Regions from separate parts of the Homo sapiens genome. Here region 2 is linked to region 1. The links are contacts of gene promoters, found by promoter capture Hi-C in blood cells and fetal thymus (Javierre and others, 2016). All regions are on one chromosome and are shown on one strand. The core of a region is centred on a gene start or on the middle of the fragment in contact, and the rest is flanking DNA. Distances in the headings are between cores, read along the strand shown. Region 1 holds the start of EGR3 (early growth response 3). Region 2 overlaps PEBP4 (phosphatidylethanolamine binding protein 4).

What was found. Contacts are between HindIII fragments. The CHiCAGO score rates a contact against its expected background, and 5 or more counts as called.
Region 2: a contact is called between a fragment that was not itself captured here and the fragment with the promoter of EGR3 in region 1, in 1 of 17 cell types (M0 macrophages). The highest score is 5.8, in M0 macrophages.

Annotation. Positions count from the first base shown.
Region 1 is chr8:22,691,867-22,695,035 of GRCh38, reverse strand. EGR3 (early growth response 3) reads left to right here and starts at 1,556. Exons shown (of 2, transcript NM_004430.3): 1 at 1,556-2,245. The coding sequence starts at 2,092. It overlaps LOC105379321 (a long non-coding RNA gene), which reads right to left and starts at 179. Exons shown (of 3, transcript XR_001745832.2): 1 at 1-179. RefSeq lists silencers at 1-134, 265-484, 1,367-1,530, 1,475-1,594, 2,457-2,526 and 1 more and enhancers at 595-694, 735-844, 677-1,322. The HindIII fragment of the contact is 8,376 bases long and covers 1-3,169 here.
Region 2 is chr8:22,756,220-22,759,388 of GRCh38, reverse strand. The region is part of intron 4 of PEBP4 (phosphatidylethanolamine binding protein 4); the gene reads left to right. It overlaps LOC107986925 (a long non-coding RNA gene), which reads right to left. Exons shown (of 3, transcript XR_007060852.1): 3 at 997-2,425. Among named protein-coding and RNA genes, the nearest start is that of EGR3, 64 kb to the right of the region's middle. The HindIII fragment of the contact is 4,907 bases long and covers 1-3,169 here.

The DNA.
Region 1 (3,169 bases), core at 307-2,806:
GGGGGGAGGCCGGGCCCTCCGGTCCCCAGCCCTCCACTGAGTGGAGGGGAGGGGAGGGGAGCGAGGTTGTCATCCACCTCCACCACAACGTGCAGCTCGGGAGTTCCTCCCACACGTCCCCGGCCCGCGTGGCCCTCCCACGGCGTGAGGCCCGGGGATCCTCTCTTCTTCCTTGTCAACACTCCCACTCCCCCCGAGAAATGCACGTTCCCCCAACCCCGACTCCCCAGGAGGGGACGAGGGATTCACCGCGCCCACGCGGCCACCGAGGAGGGAATCCTCCCCCGCCAAGCCGATGTGATTTGGGGTCGCACCCCCATGCTCCCGCCCTCTCCTCCCCCTCGCCCGCGGGCCGGCTGCGCGCGCCTCGGGAGCAGGCCCCAGGGAGCACAGCAGCCGCCCCCGGGATCTGCTGCCGCTCCGGGAGGTGAAAGCGCTCCGGGTCGGCACACAGGCCGCCCTTGACTGCGGAGCGCCGGCAGGCAGCAATGGGGACAGCCCTGTGGAAGGCGAGGGGGAGGGCAGAGACTAGGGGAGGCCCCCAGTGGCTCAGAGACTGTGGGTTCGGCGTCCTCCTTCTGGAACTCTGGCGGGCCCTTCGCAGGCAGCAGTAGACAGCGACTGCGCCCGGGCCTGCTGGGCCCTCCTGCCATCCTGTGGCCACAGAGGCTGCTTGGAACCGTTAGGGAATTTACTGGGGATTCAGTGCACGTGTTTATCTATCCCTTCAACTTCATTCTTTCCTCTTCACCACGAAAACCGCACATCCTCGACCCCATATGGATGGGGCTCTTGTCTTTGGCGCAACTGCTGGGGTGCTCCGAATCTCCTCGCCACTGCGCTCAGCCTAGAGTCAGCGCCGGGTCAGGGGCCCAGGGAGGGGCAGGGGCGGCGAATCAGAGTGAAGTTGGCACAAAAGTTCTTGGGATATTGGACCAAGGAATTCTGACAAGTTGAAACACCCCCCCAACCCTGCGCGCACCCCTCCTTCCCCCCACAAAGGGAAGCACTCCCTTTCTCTTAATCTCGGATAGGATCCCGAACGCTGGAGCCGCTGAGGTAGCAGGGGCGCAACGCACGCCTTCCGGGTTCCCCAGCAGTTCCCGGGCTGCAAAGGGATTTCGCCAGATGTTTTCAACTCTCTTTCTAACTGCTGGGGTGTTGGAGACCACTTGCAAACAACCCCACCCCACCGCCCACCTCTCCCCAATGCGCTCTCCTAACGCAAACCTCAAATAAACACACACAATGAGTTACTGGTGTTTCGACTCCACGCTACGCGCTTTGCGCTTTGCATGCAGCTGTATCCTTCTTTCCTCTCTCTTCTCGCATTCTTCTTGTTTCTTCTCCCCTTCTCTTTTTTTCAAGAGCCGCGAGCGGTGCGGGCGCCGCACGTTGGCTGCGGCCCGCTTCCTGCTTTCTAATGTTCCATTGTGAGGAGCTTCCATTGTGACGTCGCGCCCCTTCGGCTGGGCTTTGTCTGTCCATATATGGGCAGCTACGTCACGGAGCTTTCCCGGGGCTCAGATAAATAGGCTGGTGGAGTTCCCTGGCTGGGAGCTTTTGGGCAGCAGTGAGCTTGCTAGGAAGCGGCGGGGCTGGTGGTGGTGGTAGCAGCGGCGGCAGCGGCGGCAGAGGCGGCGGCGGCGGCGGCGGCGGCGGCGGCGGTGGCGGTGGCGGTGGCGGTGGCAGATCGGGGGGCGGGGGGGCGGCGGGCGCGTGTCTGTTTGTGAGATCAATACTGAGGCCGCGTCCGACCCCCTTGAGCCGAGATCCCCCCCCAGCCCAGCCCCCACCCCACCCCCCGCACACGCCCCACCCCCCCCACGACCCAGCCTCATACCGCACCAGCTGAGGCACCCAAGAGGATTACCCCCTGGGGCCCTCTCCCGCCCCCCAAAAAAGAGAAGATCCCCTCTCCTGGCCCATCCCTTCCCTTCTTCCCTCCCCCCTCCCCCCGAACTTTCCCTCTCGCATGCTTTTCCCCTGCACCACGGATCGCCTCTCGGATGCCGCTTGCCTGGAAGCTGCGTTAGGAGCGAGCGGCGGCGGTGGCGGCGGTGGCGGCGGCGGCGGCAGCTCGGGAGTGCTATGACCGGCAAACTCGCCGAGAAGCTGCCGGTGACCATGAGCAGTTTGCTAAACCAACTGCCTGACAATCTGTACCCCGAGGAGATCCCCAGCGCGCTCAACCTCTTCTCCGGCAGCAGCGACTCGGTAGTCCATTACAATCAGATGGCTACAGGTAAGGGCGGCGGGGAGGCGGCGAGGCAGCGAGGAAGGAAGGGGAGAGGAAGAGGAGGAGGGGACGACCTGGTGATGGATGGATGGATGGATGGATGGATGGATGGATGGATGGGTGGATGGGTGGATAGATAAATGGATGGAGAGATGGGGGCGCGCTGGGAATTTTGCGGGGGGCGAGTTGCTTTTCCCACCCACTCCTCCCGCCCTCCTCGATCGAGAAGGCTAGGTTGGCGACGCCACGGTAGAGGCTTCGGTTCTCCCGGGTGGGGGCAGCCGCCGACCGGAGGGAGGTAGGTGCGAGCGGCTCTGGGGTTCTCCCTCACCACGCAGGGGGCCCGATCGCCGGGCTACGCGCAAGGCGTGGTGCTGTCGCCCTCTTCCCGGGAGGAGCCCGGCGTCTTTTTCACCCGCGCTCTCCCCCCTTACTCCCTCAGCCTCCCACCCGGGATGGAGCCATGTGCGGCGTGGAGTCCCCGCGGTGGGAGAGGTACTGCGACGCTGCCTTTCCGGGGCGTTCAGCAAAGCCGTGGGGGTGTGGGGACGGCGGGGAGAAGGAGGGGGTTCACCCGCGGGGCGAGGGCCTGCCACGGGGAACGATCCCGGGGCCGGGGAGCTGGGGAAGGGCGGCCTCTCCCGCCATGGAGACACCGGCCGGTTTTCCGCCGCTCTCCACCCTCCCTAGCTGGGGCTAGGATTTTCCCCTCCAGCAAGAGCCTAAAGCTCCTTCATGCCCGAGGAGGCTGGGGCCGGGGTAGGTGAAGGGAGAGCTCCCTTTGAGGGCGACACCCTTCTACGCTCCGAGGACAAAGCGTCGGAGCGCTCTGGGTCGGCGACCCGGGAGCAGCGCGCGTGGGGGGCATCGCCGGGGAGGGAAAGGCGCGGCGTCCTGGAGCGGACAGGGCCAAGGGAAGAGGCCGAGTTG
Region 2 (3,169 bases), core at 480-2,979, 64 kb before region 1:
TCCAGTCCACCCTTTGTTGAGGAAAAAAAAAAAAAGGCTGTCCTTCTCTAATGTTTCACTTGACAAGAAGCCAGGACTCAAGAGGACTGGGTACTCCCCGGGTATCCTCTCTTGGCAAAGCCCTGGGCCTCCCTGGGCCTCCGTCTATGCGGGGTCTCTTCTAGCCTCAAAGACTCCCAGCCCCCACCCCTGACAGCAACAAAGTCAGTGTTGGGGCCCAGGTCTGCAGCGCCTCACGTCTACCCCCACCTTTCCCTGAGCCCACCAGACTGCTGTGGCCACTCTAGCCACCTGGGATCACTCCCCCAAGGCCAGCAGAGCCCATCACAGCTGCCCAAAACAGGTAAACAGCTGTTTCCCATGGCCCTCCTCCCACCCTCGCCCCCTCCCTGCAGATGGTCCTCCCCTCCCCTGGCTTCCACTTCTCCATGCTCTGCCAGTGTGCACTGACCAGCTCCTGACATAAGCCCCGGACTTCACTCCTCTTTCTGTCATGAAACCCCAGCCTGGGGGCCTCTCCCTTCCAAGGCAAGGCATTGGCTCCCTGATAAAATATCCCAAGCCCTAGGAAAGCGCTGTCCACCCCACCATACTGCGGACAGGGTGGGCCACCCCTGGACCCTGCATTCTCATGCTTGTTGGACAGAAGCAATGACATCAGCTCCCATCTGCTGAGAGCCTGCTATGGGGTACATGTTATTCTCATGATAGCCCCTGAAGTAGGCATCATTAGAATCATAGGGCAGACCATTAAACTAACTCCGGGGCAGGCCAAGTGAGTGGCCTAACAGCATACAGCCAGGCAAGTGCAAAACTGGGCTGCGGGCTTTTCTGTCCATTTCCAAACTCCCACCCACCCACTTTCTACCAGGTAAACCGGCCCCCTGCAAACGACAGCCCACAGGCCAAATCAACCTATTTTTGTAGGGCCTGTGAGCTGAGAAAGGTTTTTGCATTTTCAAAGGGTTATAAGAAAAGAAACAAACAAAGAACATGTGACCAAAACCATATGTGGCCCACCAGGCCTCAAATATTTACTACCTGGGCCTTTCCAGAAAGTTTGCCGAACCACGGGGCCACCCAGGAACATTCAGTACCAGGCACTGGGTACCACAGACACGAAGTGAAAGGGTCACCGGAGGGAAGATGGATGGATGCTCAGGCCATCCTTCTATGTGACCCACCAGCTTCAAAATCATTTTCAAAATAGCGTTTAGTAGAGATGAAATCAGGCTACAGAGAACACCAGGAGTTTCTTTGCAGGCTTCACAGCTTATGATGAAATATTTCACACACAATGTCTCTTTCATGGAGTTAGAGTCCCCATTTTTTGAATGAAAAATGGAAAAGCTGAGAGCTAAAATGACTAACTTAGGGGCCCCTGGTGAATATCCTCCCCAGGTCCCATGACCTCAAGGCCAGTGTTCTTTTCATCGCACCTGCGGCTGCTCTGGCCCCCAGGGCATCCGGCCAGGGAAGCTGGGCACAGAGAGACCAAGAGCAGCCCAGGCAGGGCTGCAGGTGGCCGGGTAGGAGGTGGAGCCACTGCGGTGACCACTCCTCCCAGGCCACCCTGCTCTTCTCATACGGATTGAATTTATATGCATCTCGGATTTCTGTTTTCAGCACAGGCCCAACTCTCTTGGAGCTGTTTCAGCCACTGAGTCCCAGTACCCCAAGAGGAGTACCCCAATTGCTGCATCTTAGGGGTGATTCTAGCTCACATCCAGGAGGCTAAATAACTGTCCCCGAGGGCAGGGAAGCCTGATTTCCAGTTGCAGCTCTCCCGCTAGCTGGCTGGATGACCCAGGGTGGGCCAGCATCCCTCTCTGGGCCTCCCTTTCCTCCCTAGGAAGCAGAGTTAACGATCCCCACCCTGTCCTTCACCCCTATGGGACTCTGGGAGAGGGAATGAGGTCATGTCTGTGAGCTGCCTGGAGGAAGGAAGCGGCAGGGGGAGTACAAGGTAGTATTATCTTCTGGGTCGAGCTGGGCAGTTGCCATGAAGTTGCTGAAATGTGTAAGCATTCCAACGACCTCGGGAACCTGTCGTGGGAATGTCATGGGAAGGCAGTGTGTCAGAACTGGCTTGGGCCTCCGAGTCACCGTGGTGTGAGTACAAACCCCAGCTCAGCTACTTCTCAGCTTTGGCAAACCACCCAATGGCTTTCAGCCTCAGTTTTCTCACCTATAAAAAGAGAATAATCCCAACCACAGTTTGGTTGTTTGGTTAAGGATTTTAAAAGATGAACCCTGGCATATGGTGAGCACTCATGATGACGACTGCTGTGGACCTGTTGTCTTGTCAGGACACCTCTTTGTGTTTCTCCATGAACTGTCTCCAGATAAATGCAAACGTCCTCCACCTGTGCCCTTTCAGGGAGAGCCTTCTGCAGTGGGGATAGCTGGGCGTTCTGAGAGCTTCCTTTTGAAAAAGAAAAATTAGAACTGAGGCAATGAACACAGGCCTTTTCCCCAGCATCATCCAGGGAACCTGCGACCCACAGGGCCAGGGGTCCTAGGTCCAGAGACTGAGGGAGGTCAGGTACTCCCTGGGTCCCTTTCCCCTGGTAAATGGTGGAGTTTGGCCACCACGATTTCCGAACTCAACAGTCCCAGCCTTGGCAAGCCGAAATTCCCAGCCTGCCAGCAACCACTTTCTTCTCCCTTACCCAGGAGCAAAAGAAGGGCCTCAATGAGCCCCCAGGCAAGTGGGTTTTTGTACAGACAGAAATGGACAATCTGCTCCTGGCATCTTTTTAAGGCAGGAAGGGATGCAAAGATTGGGGGCTGGACGCATCTAGAAAAGGCTTGCTTCCCCAAGCATCCCCAGTCCACGTGGGGAGGAGCATGGGACAGTGGTGGAGGTTGGTGGGGCTGGGGCCAGGGCCAGGGAGGAAGCGGAGAGATGCATCCAGCAGAGGGTGTGAGAATCAGCCACAACTGGCCGAGACTGTCGGAATTAGTCACCAGTGTTGACGAGGAGTTCAGTCGGTTACATAACAGCCTCCCTCGCTCACTGTTAGCTCTCCTGAGCTGGGGCTGTCCGGGGTTAAGGGTCTCTGGCAGGGAGGGTCACATCCTGGGAGCCCAGGGGCAGAGGTTCTCGCACAAGCCCGCCCTCCCCAGTCCTGCTCCAGCCCTGCGAGGCCAGAAGGAGGCGCCAGCT